2 separate regions of the Homo sapiens genome follow, and region 1 is linked to region 2. The links are contacts of gene promoters, found by promoter capture Hi-C in human tissues and cell types (Jung and others, 2019). All regions are on one chromosome and are shown on one strand. Each heading gives the region's core, a stretch centred on a gene start or on the middle of the fragment in contact. The rest is flanking DNA. Distances are from core to core; before and after follow the strand shown.

Region 1 (4,714 bases), core at 745-3,244, 240 kb after region 2:
GAAGAACTCCACCAGAGGTAAATTTATCAGAGGAATACCATTTATATCCTTGGCAGTGACACAAAAGTTAATATCCCTTTTCACATTTGATCTTCTCCTAAGACATTTTAAGGCTTAATGTAATAAATGCCTCATAATAACCAGATGTCTTAACCCACTTGATAAATTTATAATGGAGGGAATGAATACCTTCTTTCCAGCATGGGTGTATGTGAGGCTTACTTCTGGCATTGTACCAAATCAGCTGCCGGCAGCCATCATACGCACAGGAGTATTCATCATCCCCAATGCCGTAGCCTTCCTGGAGAGAGACAAGGCCCAGAAGATTAGCAAGTCTGCCTGCTCTGACCTGGGAACAGAGAGTGTGTCTTTTACGACCACTGACCTAATGGCTGGGATTCTAAGCTTTCTGGATGATGAGAGAGCTCATGGTTTTTTGAAAATACTAAAATTATGACTTAGAGGGCTGGTTCCAAGTGAATAGATAATGACTTCACCAACAAATATTTTCCCAGTGCCTCCTTTGTTCAGGCACTTTCACATTTGTTAGTTCATTTAATTCTCACTAACATTATCATGAGGCTGGTGGCATCAGACTCCATTTTAAGAGGAAACAAAGGCTCAAAGAGGTCAACCAGCTTGCCCAAGCATATATTACTTGCCCAAGAAACAGAGCCAGGTTTGAACCTAAATTCTTCTGATTCCAAGATCAGTCAGTACACTTGTATATCAGCACAAGATTGTCAGAGGCATTCAAACCAGAGAGACTCCATCTTGAATAGGGGCAGGGTAAAATGAGGCTTAGACTTGCTGGGCTGCTCAGCTGCATTCCCAAGAGGTTAGGCATTCTTAGTCACAGGATGAGACAGGAGGTCAGCACAAGATACAGGTCACAAAGACCCTGCTGATAAAACAGGATGCAATAAAGAAGCCAGCCAGAAGCTGGCCAAAACCCACCAAAACCAAGATGGCAACAAAAGTGACCTCTGGTCATCTTCACTGTTCATTATATGCTAATTATAATGCATTAGCATGCTAAAAGACACTCTAACAGGTGCCATGACACTTTACAATGTCATGGCAGTTTGGAAGTTACCCTATATAGTCTAAAAAGGAGAGGAACCCTTGGTTCCAGGAATTGCCTGTCCCTTTCCCAGAAAACTCATGAATAATCCATCCCTGTTTAGCATATAATCGAGAAATAACTAAGTATACTCAGTTGAGCAGCCCACGCCACTGCTCTGCCTATAGAGTAGCCATTCTTCTGTTTCTTTAATAAACTTGTGAAAACACTTTATTCTATGGATTCGCCCCAAATTCTTTCTTGCGCGAGGTCCAAAAACCCTCTCTTGGGATCTGGATCCAGACCCTTTCCAGTAACAAGATCAGATCAGGCAAATACCTTTCTTGCATGTAGCAGACTTCAAAATACCCAAATATTCAGAGATTTCAAAACTGGAGATAAGAGAAAGGTTATAGTGGACACTCAGCTAAAAGCTATTCTGAAATCAGCTTGATTTGAGGATTGTACAGGTCCTTGGCAGTTTCTTCTTTTTTTTTCTTTGAGATGGAGTTTCACTCTTGTTGCCTAGGCTGGAGTGCAATGGCGCGATCTTGGCTCACCACAACCTCTGCCTCCCGGGTTTAAGCGATTCTCCTGCCTCAGCCTCCTGAGTAGCTGGGATTATAGGCATGCGCCACCAGGCCCAGCTAATTTTGTATTTTTAGTAGGGACGGGGTTTCTCCATGTTGGTCAGGCTGGTCTCGAACTCTAGACCTCAGGTGATCTGCCCGCCTCGGCCTCCCAAAGTGCTGGGATTACAGGCGTGAGCCACCGCGCCTGGCAGTTTCTTCTTTTTGTTACTTACTGCCTTTCAATTATTTCACAGAACTGTTAAAATAAAAGGGTGGCTGAGATCTTAAGAAATTATTTTGAGTGCTTATAAAAAATAGAAGCAGCATGCAAATCAGACAACTGCTATCTTTAAGGAACAATGGTGAAAAGTTTTACTAGAGAAAGAAATTGAAAATGGCCAAATCCAAGTAAGATCAGGTCCTGATGGCCTGCTTCTTCTATGGGGCAAACAATACAGTGAGGAGAGAGATTGGAAAAAAAGTTCTGATGAATGCAACAATGATTTTGTACTGGATTTTTGGATTACAACATACTGAATTTGGAGGAACGCTCTCCAAAGTGACTCTTCTGAAATAGCTATTGATATTCACTATTCAGACTACTCAAGAGTTAAATGAGCTTGCATCTAATTGCCTTAGAAATTCACCACCCAAGGCTGCCAAGAGCAGTGGCTCATGCCTGTAATTTCAGCACTTTGGGGGGCAGATCACTTGAGGCCAGGCATTTGAGACCAGCCTGGCCAACATGGCGAAACCCTGTCTCTACTAAAAATACAAAAATTATCCAGGTGTGGTGGCGCACACCTATAATCCCAGTTACTCTGGTGGCTGAGGCACAAGAATCGCCTGAACCTGGGAGGCAGAGGTTGCAGTGAGCAGAGATCACGTGCCACTGCACCCTGGCCTGGGTGACAGAGCGAGACTGTCTCAAAACAAAACAAAACAAAAGAAATTCACTACTTGCTAGAAAGAATGCCTTGCCACACCTTTCAAACGCTGAACAAGTCAGTAAGTAAAAAACTTAAAAACCACTAAAATGTAGGCATTGTGGCATAAGTAAAAGGCAAGCAATTCTTTTCTATCTTCACCTTCTAATGTCCTGAGAAGTCCTTGACAGAACACTTGAAAGAAATTCCTAGAAGCTAGCCACCATGAGTTGGTAAAGAGCAGACTCATTACACATTCTTTACCATGCAATGTCTTTGATGACTGGATAAGTTCCACAACAGAGTGGCACTGTAGCACAAAGAAGGAACTCTAATAACTTTAACTACAGAGCAGCATCTACAGATTTAAGGAGAAGATGCCTCTGCCTAGCAGAGATGCACTTTAAAAATCTCTTAAGCTTACATCTCAGAGAACAACCTAGATGTCCTACACCCTCTCTCAGCTCAAAATGTTCCCAGCAGGATTAATTTTGGTTTCCATTGGCTAGGACAGATAAATGAGAGAATAGAGTGGTTAGCTTGGTATTTATCTTGAACTACCTGTTTTTTGGTCATGCATATTTTAGCAATGGAAACATTACCAAATACAAACAAAAGAAAGTTTATCCACAGCTTGTCATTCAGGGAATAGTTTGAGTCTCTTTCCCACGTGGTGGACACTCTCCTTTTTCCTGCTGTAGGGCATCCCAACCGTTTCCTGTTAAGGGAAATGTATGAAGACAGTGTTCTGCCTCCTCCTTTGGAAGTGGAAAGGTAAGATATGACCTAGGCTTGGCCAGCTGGACCTTCCCATCAAACACTCAGTATGGTGCAAGTGACCCCAAACAGAGGGATAGTTAGGATGGATTTCCAGCAGCAATGGTGGCTGCATGCTGGCCAGATCGTTTCCCTAAAACACCGGCTATTGTACTTCCTGTTTCTTGGCCCTGACAGCCTTGGAGCCTGTCTAGTTCCAAAACTTCTCCATAATCTGGAGGCTCCGGAAAGGCTTCTAAATCATTCCTTTTCTGTCTGAGATAGCCAGAGTCATTTTCTCGAAGGCAGATGCTTCAACAGGGGAAGGAGCATGGGCTATCCTGGCCTGAAATCTCTAGCAGCTGGAGACTACATGGCTTTGGGGAAGTTTCTTAATTTCTCTCAACTTGATTTTCCTCATCTTTAAATGGCAGGATAATACCTTTCCAAACTCTCAAAAAGATTAAAGATAAATATGTGAAAGACCTCACAAAAGTGTCACATGACAGACACTCACAAAAAAGCAAAAGATATTTATTTATTTATTTATTTTTGAGACAGAGTCTCACTCTATCGCCCAGGCTAGAGTGCAGTGGCACTATCTGGGCTCAGTGCAACCTCTGCCTCCCATATTCCAGCAATTCTCCTGCCTCAGCCTCCCGAGTAGCTGGGATTACAGGCGCCCGCCACCACGCCCAGCTAATTTTTTATATTCAGTAGAGACGGGGTTTCACCATGTTGGCCAGTCAAACTCCTGACCTTAAGTGATCCACCCACCTCAGCCTCCCAAAGTGCTGGGATTACAGGTGTGAGCCACTGCGCCTGGCCAAAAGGCAAAAGATATTTTAGATAAATCAGAGTACACCCTTGGAGAGTTGCTCCTCCTAAGCCTCCATAAAAATATACAATACAACAAGACAAACTGTTCTGTAGGTTACCTGAACAGAACTATCCTTAAGCTTATTTTAATGACCTAACATTGAGCCCAGTGGCCAGCCTTTTAAAATGGAAACCTAAGCAGCAAGAATTCAAGTAAGAGGCACTATGCAGAGACTTAGAATCTTTTGAAACTGGGTGTATCCTAGGAATGACTTACTCCATAGAATCACACCCTGTCTGAATAGGCAAAAAGATTCAGAATCACCAGAACAATGTACATTTAAAGCAAAGTTTTAAATATGGCAACATCATTAAAATCCTGTATTTGGGAAAAGACATCGTATCAGACTTTATCAATTTCTAATAGGGAATCACCTAATGCTTGGATCAGGGAAGAGTGTTTGTTTTTAAAGAAACCAACAGCCTGTCAAGTGATCTGGAGGATAAAAAAACAGTATTTAAGTCTTTAACTTGACAAGCCAAAGGTCTGCAACTACATGGCAAAAGTTATAATTTCA
Region 2 (4,671 bases), core at 2,155-4,654:
CCCCCTCCTGACACTAGGCACAATACCCTCCCTTTAACCTCCTAGTAAAAGGAGTACTCACCAAGCCTGTGAGCAATGAATTCATCATGAAGAACTGAGGAATTGGCATCAATCTGAACCCAGTCAATGGCTAAAAAATGAAAGAAGCAGACATGGAGTTTAGCCATCAAATTTACCTACAGACTTAATGCAGTGGTTCTCAAGATTTAGGAATCACCTGACACTAAACTGCAGATTGCTGGGCTGATTCCACAGCATTAGAGTGGGGCCCAGGTACTTGCATTTTAATAAGACCCACACACACCACACCTCACCTCCCTGCCCAGGTGAATTTAATGCAGGGGGCTCCCTGCTTCACAGAAAACACTGACTTATAGAATATCATAGAAGTGGAAACATGTTTATTTGAGCTGAGTATTTGCATGAGAAGCACTTAAATCTGCTACCTGTGCCACCACTAAATCCAAGAACATGAACTATTTGAGCACTTCAAAGTCAGGGAAACCCTCACAGAAGCAACACAGACTTATGGGGCCATACCTCATTTTAGGATATAATGACTGGACTGCCCAACTTAGCACTTTTTAAACACTCAATCAACAAATGTTTACTGAATTCTTTTAATGCGCAAAGTATACTAAATATAGAACCCAATCCCTAGCAGCAATGAGCTCGTAGGAGGGTAAAGACTGTATTATCGATCACACATGCTTGACTTAAACACACATTTATTCATTCATAAACATTTGCATGGAACCAACTAAATCCAGGAATCAAATGGCACTGGAGCCCAACTGCCAAACGAGGGACACAGACACTAGGAACAGCGGTCGGAAGAGGACCTCCCCCTGCCAGGCCTCCACCTGCTCTGTCCTGCTATGCTTCCCATTGCTTCCCCAGTCCAAGCCAACTGAGAGAACCCTGACCCAAGCTTTTCTGCCTCTTTAATCCCCCAGCCCTTCCCTCCAGCACACCCTTCCCCTCCTTGCTGTACAGGTTAAGATCCTCTGTGCCTCCTGAAAACTAAGCCTTGCCTGCTCTCTATGCTACAGATGTGACATTCCCTCCCTTTCAACTCCTCTCTCACAAAACTCTGTTCAGACTTCCCTCAAGACACTTGTCATAGTGTGCCTTGTGTCATATTTGTGTATGTTATGTCTATACCTCAAGCTTCAGAAATTCCTTCACGCAGGTCCTGGGATGTCTTTGTATTCCTAGCATGGGTGCTCAATATTATTTGTAGAACTGAATTTGTTGGGAAAGAGGCATTTAGACTCAGAATGGCAGGGCTGCATCATGAAGTACAACTCCCTCACCTGACTCCTGATGAAACTGAGGTCCAGAGGCATGAAGTGCTTAGGCAGGGGGAGGTCCAGCACTCCAAGCTGAATTTAAGAAGTGACTGGGGGGCGGGGGGGTGGGGTGGTGGTGGTAGTGGATAAACTACAATGTTCTCTTGCCTAATCATTTGGCCTGCTTATTTCCTTAAAAGTCTGAATATTTGATGCCACAGCTATGACTTATATTTATTTTGCCTAATCCAAACTCTCTGAGCTGACTCTCAGAAATGCTTGAAGTATTTCATACAAGTATAATCAATGCATTAAGCACCTGGAGCAGAGTGGCTGGAACCAGACCAGAAATTGATCTTCCCTCCTCTAAGAGCCAAGTGCACCACAGCTATGCTTCTCCTGAACTACTGATCAAAATCTACCTTGCTTTAGTGTTGTCTGTGGATTCATCTCTCCCCTACAACCTCACTGTGGACTCCATGAGGGCAAAAACCCTGTTCTCTACAGCTTTGCATTCCCAGAGCTTACCACCATGCCTGCCACTTTCATGCTCCATAAATGCTGTTGAAGGAATAGATTAATAAAAAAGCCATCTACCAGCACTGAGCACTCACTAAACACAAAGCACTTATATGGATTACCTCACTTAATCCTTAACATTACCCTGATAAGGATCATTAGTGGCCGAATGTTACAGATGAGGAAACTGCAGCACACAGAAGTTTAATAACTTGCCCAAGTTTCACAAAAGCAGTAAGTGATGCAGCCATAAGAACGAACGAAATCATGTCCTCTGCAGCAACATGGACGTGGCTGGAAGCCACTATCTTCTTTTTTATTTTCTTTTGTTTGAGAAGGAGTCTCACTCTATTGCCCAGGCCAGAGTGCAGTGGCATGATCTCGGCTCACTGCAACCTCCACCTTCTGGGTTCAATCAATTCTGCCTCAGCCTCCCCAGTAGCTGGGATTACAGGTGGGAGCCACCACACCTGGCTAATTTTTGCATTTTTAGTAGAGGCGGGCTTTCCCCATGTTGGCCAGGCTGGTCTCAAACTCCTGGCCTCAGGTGTTCCTCAGTCTTGGCCTCCCAAAGTGCTGGAATTACAGGCGCGAGCGCGGCCTGGAAGCCATTATCCTAAGAGAATTAACACAGGAACAGAAAACCAAACACCGCATGGGAGCTAAAACTGGGTACGCACGGACATAAAGATGACAATAAACACACTGGTGACTACTAGAGCTGGAAGGGAGGCAGTGGGGCTAGGGGTGAAAAACTACCTATTGCGTACTATGCTCACTACCTGGGTGAAAGGATCATTTATACCCCAAATCTCAGCATCACGCACTATACCCAGGCAACAAACCTGCACCAATGTACCCCTTGACTCCAAAATAAAAGTTGAAAACATTTTAAAAACTTTTGTAACAATAGTAGTGAAAACAGTATTTGAACCCAAGTCTGCACACTGCTAAACCCATGCTTCTCAGCAATGCATACCCAGGACAAGGGTGGACCTAAGTGGCCCGTGGGCGCCAGGGAGGCGGCCACTGAGCCAAGGGCACAGGGTATGGTCAAGTCTCCAGCAATGCACTTTTCTCAGCACTACCACCCTCAGCCCGAACCAAGGACTGGAAGGAGCCCCAAAGAGTGTGTGGGTGGAGAGCGGGGCAGGAACCCGTGGGCGCGGGAACGAGGAAGGGGAGTCGCTTACCTATTATGGGAACCTCAGCGATGAAGACCCTCCGAATCGAATTGGCCACCCTGAAAGATCAAAAGCCAAGGGGCGTGAAGGCGCTGCAGCCTCGACAGGCTGGGCCCGCGCCGCAGGCTCCCAAAGCTAAAGCCCTGGTGCAGGGGGGCAGCTCTGGAAGGACATCGCCCCCACCCCACCCCACTACACCCCCGCCCCCTGCCCCGGGGCCCCGGCTTGGGCCTCCCGGCGCCCCAGAGCCGCCAGCCTCTTCCCTCGGTAGCCTTACGCCAGGTCGGTGTTCTCGATGATGAACTTGACATTCTCGTCAGTGAGCTCCGTGATCCGCACGGTAGGCTGGTTGGCGTACGGCATCTCGCCCAGGGGCCACCAGCCTCCGCGTCTGCTCCGCGGTGACTGCGCGGCGCCACCGCCAACACCGGAAGTCAGTCAGCGAGGCCTCCGCGGCTTCCGCAAAGACGACTCACAGCGCCGCCTGCTGCTCGGAGGCCAGAACTGCCGAGCGTCTTCTGCGGCCTCCTGCTTTAAAATGTACCAGATTCAGCTATCTCGGAGGGTAGTTTGGCAAAACACGCATACGTCCTTCACTTAACAGTAACACTTCTAAGAATTCATACTGCAGAAACACTTGCAGTTGTAAACAAAGATACGAGTGCAGGGACGTTCGTGGTAGTACTGTTTGTACTGTCCATTGATAAGAGACCTGGTGGAGTATACACACATGGAATACTATGAAGCACTTAAAAAGAACTTGTACATCTATAGAAAAACAAAAGTATATTTTAATATGAATGTATATTTTAGCAAAGTATACCTGAATTATAAGTAAATACCCTTTCCCTTGCAGTCTCAAGTATGGACCATGCACTTCTGAAAACTTCAGGAAAAGATACAATGTTCTTTAACCTAATGCTTCCTCTACAGTCTGTGTAGCTGTGGTGGGTGAGTGGGAACTCTTTGTCTCTGCATCCCCAGTGCCTGGCAGTGGGCACCATGTGGGGTGCATGCTCAACAAAGAACTACTGAAGTCCCCTAAACAGACTGGAGAGAGGTTTAAATGGGCCTCAAAAAAAGTGGCTGCTGCTCCAACAGAGAAAAGCTCTAAAATAGAACGTGGCAGGAAATACATTTAAGAGTTGGGAGAAGAGTAACCAGATAAAGAGGAGTTTGCCTTTGCAAAGAGTGACACCTCTTCCTGAAACAGAGGGTGGGCACTGATGGAACCCTGCTCCATAACCTGTGTCATCTTGGTAAATTAAGAATTATGGTTGTCTGCTGAGTGTAAGATGGATGCTATGAAGGAAAAAGGAGAATGCAATGAAAACTGGAACAGCTACTGCGAAAACTTCACAGGATGTCAAGAGATACAAGGAATTGAGAGGTGCAAAAAAGATCCAGTGGAAGACCCACAAGAGATCTGAAATTCAATTAGTTGCTGACTTTCCCCCATTAATATTCAGCTGACAGGCAGAAGAGAGCAAAGCAGAAAACAGAGCTAACCAGACGTGCAAAGGGAACCCAGCCAGTGTAGAGGCTGAGAAAATTACTGGGGCTAAAGAATGTACCACTAAAATCGTCAGACAAGAGCAGCCAAGGGAGCTGATGGTCTGTGGGAAGGCTTCTGTTACCCGTATTTTACTGATGGGAAGACTTGAGCCCAGAGACGC

The links. Contacts are between HindIII fragments. The study calls those that stand out against the background at their distance.
Region 1: a fragment that was not itself captured here is called in contact with the fragment with the promoter of POLR2C in region 2 in 2 of the 25 tissues and cell types used here (aorta and dorsolateral prefrontal cortex).

Annotation. Positions count from the first base shown.
Region 1 is chr16:57,222,929-57,227,642 of GRCh38, reverse strand. It overlaps RSPRY1 (ring finger and SPRY domain containing 1), which reads right to left. Exons shown (of 15, transcript NM_133368.3): 11 at 190-301. Among named protein-coding and RNA genes, the nearest start is that of ARL2BP, 20 kb to the left of the region's middle. The HindIII fragment of the contact is 5,127 bases long and covers 1-4,557 here.
Region 2 is chr16:57,461,412-57,466,082 of GRCh38, reverse strand. POLR2C (RNA polymerase II subunit C) reads right to left here and starts at 3,404. Exons shown (of 9, transcript NM_032940.3): 1 at 3,273-3,404; 2 at 3,005-3,054; 3 at 62-130. The coding sequence starts at 3,358. RefSeq lists an enhancer at 3,252-3,546. The HindIII fragment of the contact is 18,274 bases long and covers 1-4,671 here.